Linked DNA regions of Homo sapiens: region 2 is linked to region 1. The links are contacts of gene promoters, found by promoter capture Hi-C in blood cells and fetal thymus (Javierre and others, 2016). All regions are on one chromosome and are shown on one strand. The core of a region is centred on a gene start or on the middle of the fragment in contact, and the rest is flanking DNA. Distances in the headings are between cores, read along the strand shown. Region 1 holds the start of CD200R1L-AS1 (CD200R1L antisense RNA 1). Region 2 has its middle 62 kb from the start of CD200R1L.

What was found. Contacts are between HindIII fragments. The CHiCAGO score rates a contact against its expected background, and 5 or more counts as called.
Region 2: a fragment that was not itself captured here is called in contact with the fragment with the promoter of CD200R1L-AS1 in region 1 in 2 of 17 cell types (naive B cells and M2 macrophages); the score reaches 5.3 in naive B cells.

The regions. Positions count from the first base shown.
Region 1 is chr3:112,801,222-112,805,274 of GRCh38, forward strand. It overlaps CD200R1L-AS1 (CD200R1L antisense RNA 1), which reads left to right and starts at 1,257. Exons shown (of 3, transcript NR_149027.1): 1 at 1,257-1,427. The HindIII fragment of the contact is 7,448 bases long and covers 1-2,401 here.
Region 2 is chr3:112,906,739-112,910,710 of GRCh38, forward strand. No RefSeq gene overlaps it. Among named protein-coding and RNA genes, the nearest start is that of CD200R1L, 62 kb to the left of the region's middle. The HindIII fragment of the contact is 2,618 bases long and covers 1,033-3,650 here.

The sequences.
Region 1 (4,053 bases), core at 7-2,506:
TTTTAGTTTGGCTGAATGGGAAATAGCCAACTTTATTGTCTTATCTCCCTTTAAAAAACAAACAAAAAAAATTTCTTTAATGTTTATGTTATACATGAATACAATCTCACTAAAAAAATAAGTTCTATGGATAAAGTTTATGTCTCCTTAATCACTACTCCCCTTCTTAAAGGTGACTACTATTACCAGTTCACTGTGCATCCTTCCAGAACTCTTTTCTCTGAATTTCTTAGCACATATGTGTGCTATAGAGCTATATAGTTTCACAAGTGTGTATTTGTACATAAATAATACAAATTATTCTATGACTAGCTTTTTACTCTACAGTGTGTATTAAGGGGGAATTCCATGCCAGTTTGCAGATAGCCACCTCATTCTTTGTAACTGTTGTATACCACTCTGTAGCATGAATGTGCTACTTTTTTTTTTTTTTTTTTTTAAGACAAGGTCTCCCTCTGTCACCCAGGCTGGAGTGCAGTGGCGCGACCTAGGCTCACTGCAACCTCCGCCTCCTGAGTTCAAGCAGTTCTTCTGCTTTAGCCTCCCCAGTAGCTAGGATTATAGACACCATGCCACCACAGCCTGGCTAATTTTTGTATTTTTAGTAGAGATGGGTTTCATCATGTTGGTCAGGCTGGAATGTGCTACCTTTTGTTTAACCACCTTCCTACTGAGTTACAAGTGAGTCATTTCAAATATTTTGCTCTTATAGATACTGTTGCAATGAATATATTTGTTCATACCTTCTTAGGTACATGTGTAGATATGAAAAAAGTAATTACTGATCTTAGGATATACACATTAAAAGCTATAACCCTAACAAATTACCTTTCCACATGCCTGTCCCAGTTTATTCCCTCATCAGCAGTGCATCATGGAACCCATTTCCCTGTACTTTCACCAAGATTTGATAGCAAATATTTCATTTTTGCTTAATGAGAACAAAATGTTATCTTATTGTGGCTTTTATTTGTATTTATTAGATTAGTAGAAATATATATTACCTTTTCATGAGTGTATTGCTTATGTGTATTTTTCTTCAATAAACTACCTGTCAATATATACATAAGTCTTCTCTAGACTTTATTCTTTGAATCTATTTGCATTTTCCTGCATAGATGCCACATTTGCTTAATTACTCTAGCTTTTTAATATGCTTTAATATCTTGGGAAGGGGACTTTTTTCCATCTGTATAGACCATTTTACTTGCAAATTACTTACACAAGGAAATATCTAATCTCACATTACACTTGTCACCAAATGATAGACACTAATCTCCATTTCTTAGAAATGAGGAAATAAAACCACAAAATGTACAAAGTCAGATCTAAAACCCCTACCTTTGGGTCCAGACTTTTCTTCTAAAGTTCTGCAGTTATACCCAGATGCCACAGAAACATAGGATCTTAGAGGAGAAGTAACTTAGGTAAGATTATCTAATCTAAACTCCTCCTTTTACAGATGAGTAAATTAAGGTGTGGGAAAGCTAAGTACCTAAAACCTAGCATTAGAACACAGATCTTCTGGTTTTTGGTCAGTTAGGTTTCTATAATGGCAGTATTTCATTAACAAATTCTAGTGGGTTTTTTTCCCTATCACTGTCCTGAAAGAGGAAAAAAATTTAGAACCATTGTCAGACCTTTAGTTTTTTTCAGTTTTTTAATTATGAAATAAAGGGAAATAAATTGTTAAAGTTGAGACTGGGCACATACGAGTTCAAACTCAAGAGTCTTTTATATGTTTATACCAACTCTGTGGGAGAGACAGGGGGAATAAAAGCATTCTCAGTTACAATAATGAATATATTCTGTTTATCCACTGCCCACCTCCTGGATGTCTCAAGCATTTCATGGATGGTGCTGCATCTGTAAGCGAGGATGGACAAATGTGTCCAGAACAAGCAGTTGTAACTATTGTGAGGCCCCATCTGGAACAGAAGGTGATTCAATCTCTTCCTTTGATTGGAATCTTTCATACTTTATTTTTCAGCATTCTGAGCTAGGAAACATGTGAATACTGAATTTCAACAGCTATCTCATTTCACCTGATAGTACTTTTCTTTGCCTAGGCAAAGGAACAGAACAGTTTAACCTGCATCACAAACTTCAAAAGAGTTGTAGCTACTCCTGGAAAGAGAGAGATAGGAGGCTGCCCATGCTTCAACATCCTCTGGATTTTGAGCCAGAATGAAAACAAGAAGAAAACAACACTTGAAGTTCTGACTTAGTCTGGGCCCACAGTCTCAGATCCTTTGAGTTACACAGCAGGAAGGAAAGAGTCCCCTATGGGGTCATGAACCACATCGTCTGATTGAATAATTGGTGCTTATTTCTGGGTCCTCAACTTGGCCATCTAACAGCTTGCATGTGCTCCATTTATAGTCCTCAGGCAAATTCTTTAAGCTTTTGGGTTGCATTTTTCATTTCCATTGGTTATAAATAATAGGTCAGGACAGATGTCTTTAATAGCCTAAGATCTAAAACATATGTTTGTGCAATGAGACCACAGAGGTAGAACTATAGAACCTGAAGCCAATTTTATTTTTAGAAGAGACTTTAGTTGTCTGTTCAACATATTTATTTTAAACGTAATTTTTGTTCATCCAATATGTCATGCTGTTAAGAAACATACCAGATAAGAAGGCCAACCTCCTGCCCTCCAGGAGTACATAATATCATTCCTCAATGCTCGTTCTTCATGCTCAAAGAGTACCAGATTGAAGAACTGGAGGTCCCAAAAAAGGTAATAGGAGTAAGGTGAAGTTGAAGGGGAGCACACTTTCCCTTCAGTCAGTCTCAAGCCAGTGAAAAATCCCTACCAATTTTCTTCAGGCCCTTCAGCAGGAATGTAGAATAGCTGTATGGACCTCTCAACTATACATGATAGCTTTGGTCTAATTTATAAAAATGTTCCTTTGTTCCCTCTGAGACTGCAGTTCTCCTATCTGCACACACACTTTCCTGACTCTGCAGCAGAAACTTAGTTACGAGACCCATTTCTTAGGTCACCCTGTCTTCCTCTTTGGGTGAAGAAGTTTCCTTCTTCTCAGATATTCCTCCAGTGAATTTTATGTCATTCTTCACTAATTTTGCAGACACTTTCCTGCTCCTTCTGGAGATTTCTGGTCCTAGAACAACTCCACTACTATGTCTCCTTCCTCTTCTTCTTCTTCTTCTTCTTCTTCTTCTTTCTTCTTTCTTCTTCTTCTTCTTCTTCTTCTTCTTCTCCTTCTCCTTCTCCTTCTCCTTCTCCTTCTCCTTCTCCTTCTCCTTCTTCTTCTTCTTCTTCTTCTTTTCTTCCTCTTGTTCTTTCTTCCCCTTTTCTACTTTCTACAAAAATAAGATGTAAGAGATAATGATGTTGTGGAACAATCTGAGTTAGGATCTTGTCTCCACCACTTAATATTGGAGTTTCAATGTTCTTGACTGTAAAATAGATTAAACGTTAACACCTACCTGCCTCAGCAGATTGATAAAATGATTAAGGTATGTGAAGCAGATGCCTCTATAAGTATTGGCTCCAGTCTCCTTTTTAAATCCCAAATTGCTTTTTATGCTATATACCATCCAACTCCGGTCTGTGGTCATCTTTCTTACTTTTAAAAAAAGTGTTCTTGGCTTTAATCCCTGAATTTCTCCCTGGACTAATTTTCTCTGTCCTGTGAGCATTGCCTTCAGTTGGCCGAGCCAGCTTTGTCTCCAGTGATGTTCAGCTTTCTCCACCACTACTCGCACCACTAGGTTGTTGTAAACTGTAGATCATAGGACCATCTTCTAAGACATCCCCATCATATACCTCCTACAGGTCCTGTGATATGTTGATTAGTTGCTTCTTTATTGTGATGGGTAAAAAGGGAACCCTGATTTGCAGTGTGGTGTAAGTATTCTTACTATGTCCTACTTCCAGCTACCAATGGTTTAATGATCAGCTTACAAATATCCTGAATATTTAATAATAAATCTTTCAACCTATCAAGAGCTAGCTCCAGCATACAGCTGGCAGAGGTTCCAGCTAAATGTTCCTCTTGGTTCAAAGGGATCTCCTTATAACTC
Region 2 (3,972 bases), core at 1,092-3,591, 110 kb after region 1:
GATTTTAAAAGAAATTCACTATAAAATTCTGGGAGTTACAGGTACAAGAATTAGTAAGCTAATCATGGTCTTGTTTTTACTCTGACAGCTTTGCTACAGTCACTGCGTTCTCCACAAATGGAACTATGTACAGAATTTATGACAACTAAAGTGAATTTCCTGAGAAATGTAATTTTGGAGAAATTGAAGGATTTATGAAGAGATGATACTAACAGAGGCATAGCAATGTTGCATTTGAACTGATATAACAAGCTGATTATGAAGAGGCATAGTGGAAGAAAATGATATTCAGGGGAATAATAAAAAGTCATCTGTGACCAACTAAGTTGGTCTGAGTTCCACTTTAAATTTATTTCCAGAAATCTTTACTCTCCTGCTCCAATCCTGACTGGTTGCTTCCTATTTCCATTTTATGATTTCTTATTCTGGCACTTTCTTTTGATATTTACCTGGGAAATCTCCTCAGCTGTCTTCTCTATTGAAGCCCATGTTTCCAGAATCCTAGCTTCTTTACTGGTTTTCTCCTTATTTGAGAGTTTACATGCCTGAAATTTTCTTTGAATCTGTAGCATATTCGCAAGGGTCATTCAGTTTCTGCCTTGAAAGTTGCTCAAAATCTTGTCCCAAGAGGTATGTGTGCCTATCTGGGGTATTTGGGGACCTGGACAGGGAATGAGGGCTGGCAGGGATTGGGGGTGTATTTCTCTGGTAAATATATAGATTCCACTTAATCCACCTATTTTCAGCCCCATATCTCCTCTTGAATCTTTCTGTTCCCATTGTCTGTAAGACTAAATTCTTTGTGATTCATGTTCTATAGGGAATAAATCTAAAATCTGAGAATTTGGAAGGGAATGTTGAGACTTTTCAGGGTCTAACCACCTCTTACACAGAATTTCAAACAATTCTCTTAATTCCAGACCTGGGCTTTGCACTCACTTTCTGCAAAACCCAATTCTTGAGCCTTTGCAGCTTGGTTCTGTTTCCTCCTGAAGAAACACGTTCAGCTTCCTCTATTCTCCTGGGTGATCAAGCTTTCCATCCTCCAAAATACGTTAATGTTTCCTAACCCCCTGTGTCTTCTCTCCTGACATTTTGATTCCTTTAGGCCTATATGTTTTAAATATTATTATTGTCATATTAATAGCCATTCAGGAGAGAATAGACACGATACATCTATTCAATTCACCATGTCAAACTAGAAATCTCCATTTTTATTTAAAATCCTGTGGCATTTTTTTATTTTTTTATTAAGAAATGTTTTTTCAAAGATAATTTTGGCAGAAATATAAGTAATTAAGACATTATCTTTCTTTTTTAAAACATAGTGATTAAAATAAAGTAGCATTTTCACTCTTTGAGCTATTTTAAACTGAGCATTTTAAAGGACTAGTGGAAAAGCTCTAGTGGAAAAATATTCTAATGTATTTTTCTAATTATGGTTTCCTCTCTACTTCGCCCAATACCCCTCAGCATCCCCGCAACTTGGCCAACAGACTCACCAGCTATGAAAAAAAATGTGAACAGTATCCCAAAAGCTGAAGCCATCTTCCAAAGGGAGTTATTTCTATTTTTTTTTTCTTATCTTTGCCTCTATGTTTTCTTCCACTGTATAATAGGCCTAGTTATGGTATTTTACTTCTCTTGCTCTGCTCCATTAGCACTGGTGAGAAATCCCCTGCTCTCTTAGATGGTTGTATTTTTGGCTCATGAGCAACTTAAATAGAAGCATTTCCTGTTTGCACAGTTGAGGTGATAATGACTGAATTTTCTGGTTTGTGCTTTTATACATTTACTTATTTCAAGAGAAGCATGTATATTTGACCCAGGATTCAGATCCAATTGTAATTGATTGAGCTATGTCCCAGATACTGTCAGAATGATTCTTATGAGGCATGTATAGTTATATTTATTTTTATAGATAAGGAAGTAGAGATTCGAAAAGGTTAAGAAACTTATCCTAAGTCAATTAATGATACGGTAGAAGAATAACCAGCATAGAAAGAAAGACCTTTTCATAAGTAATTTTCCTTATCTTCTACTGCATTTTGTATGTGTGTCTATGTATATTTTTTGGTATTTTGTTGTGTGGCTTATGAGAGGAGTTACACACAATCTCTCCTTCCAGGGATATGCACTTTAACATAGAAATCACTGAGGCAGAAAGTATTTAAAAGTAACATGCTCAAAAAGATCATAATACAAATAATTCTTCACCTAAATTATTGTATTAGCCTCTTCTACTTCATAATATTTACTTAATATCTCTTTTCATCTCTGTTCAGTTTGTTTTTTTTGGCTAAAGCAATTTAGGATATGCTCTTTCCTTCTGCAAACTCAGGGTTGCTACATGGGTTGCAAAGGTAAAGATAAAGAGTGCTGACCAGTAGGCTGAAGTTTCTGCCCATAAATTCTCCTTACATCTTCCTGACCACACAATAATCCTGCCCTTGGATTTTCCTGTGCGTTCTCCCCACCCACTTCCAGTGGTTCATACTGGTTTCAGTTTGGCTAGACAAAAAGAATGGTTAGTGATAACTTTGTATGAAAAAGATGGATATAATTGTGCACATTTGTTAACTTTCTATACTACAGAGTTATCACCAGGATCAGATTCTTGTCTCCAGATAGATAATTCCTCAACACATTTGAAGGTGAATTTGGGATTTTTAGTGAAATAACAAAGAAATTCTATCCTCTATTTCTTGCCCACCCTCTATTTTGAGTTGATTTTTGTGTAGGCCATAAGATAGGGCCCAATTTTATTCTTTTGCCTAGGGTTATTCAGTTTCCCCAATATCAATTGTCAAAGAGACTGTTCTGTCCCCATTGTGTATTTTTGGAATCCTAGTTGAAGATCAGTTGACTATATATGCATGAATTTATTTCTGGGATCTCTATTCTGTTATGCTGGTCTATAGATGTCTTTATGCCAGTAGCATACTGTTTTAATTACTGTAGCCTGGTAGTATATTTTGATATAAGGAAGTGTAATGCCTCCAAGTTTATTCTTGGCTGTTTAAGGTCTTTTATGGTTTCATATGAATTTTATAATTGATTTTCTATTTCTGTAAAAATGTCATGGAATTTTGATAAGAATTGAATTGAATCTGTAGATCTTTGTAGTGTCTTAGCCTATTTTGCTGCTATGACAAAATACCACAGACTGAGTAATTTGCAAACAAAAGAAATTTATTTCTCACAGCTCTGAAGGCTGAGAACTTCAAGATCAAGGCACCAGTAGACTCAGTGTCTTATGAGTGCTACTATTTGCTTCAAAGACGATGCCTTCTTGCTAAATCCTCTGCAGAGTAAGTATGTTGTGTCTTCACATGACAGAAGGGACAAAGGGGGTCCCTGTCTGCCTCTTTATTAAGTCAGTAGTTCATTCATGAGGGTGAAGCCTTTATAGCTTAATCACTTCTGAGGGGCCCCCCTCTTAATGCTGTTGCATTGAGCATTAAGTTTCAACAAGAATTTTGGAGGGAACACAAACATGAAAACCATAACAGGTAGTATAAACATTGTAACAATATTAAGCCTTCCAATCCATGAACACAGAATGTCTTTCCATTTGTTTGTGTCTTCATTAATTTCTTTCATCAATGTTTTGTAATTTTCAGTGAACAAGTATTTCACTTGCTTAGTTAAGCTTATTCACAAGTATTTTTTGATGCTAATGTAAATAGGATTGTTTTCCTCATTTCCTTTACAGATAGTTTATTAGTATATAGAAATGCAACTGATTTTTGTATGTTGATGAAAATTCATAAATATGTGGAAATTAAATAATGCATTTTCAAACAAGTGGGTCAAAAAAAAATCAAAAGGGGATATAAAAAACACCTGACACAAACAACAATGAAAGTACAGCATACCAAAACTCCTGAGATACAGCAAAAATAGTGGTAAAAGGGAAGTTTATAGCAATGAATGCCTACATTAAAAAGAAGAAAAACCACAAATAAAAAA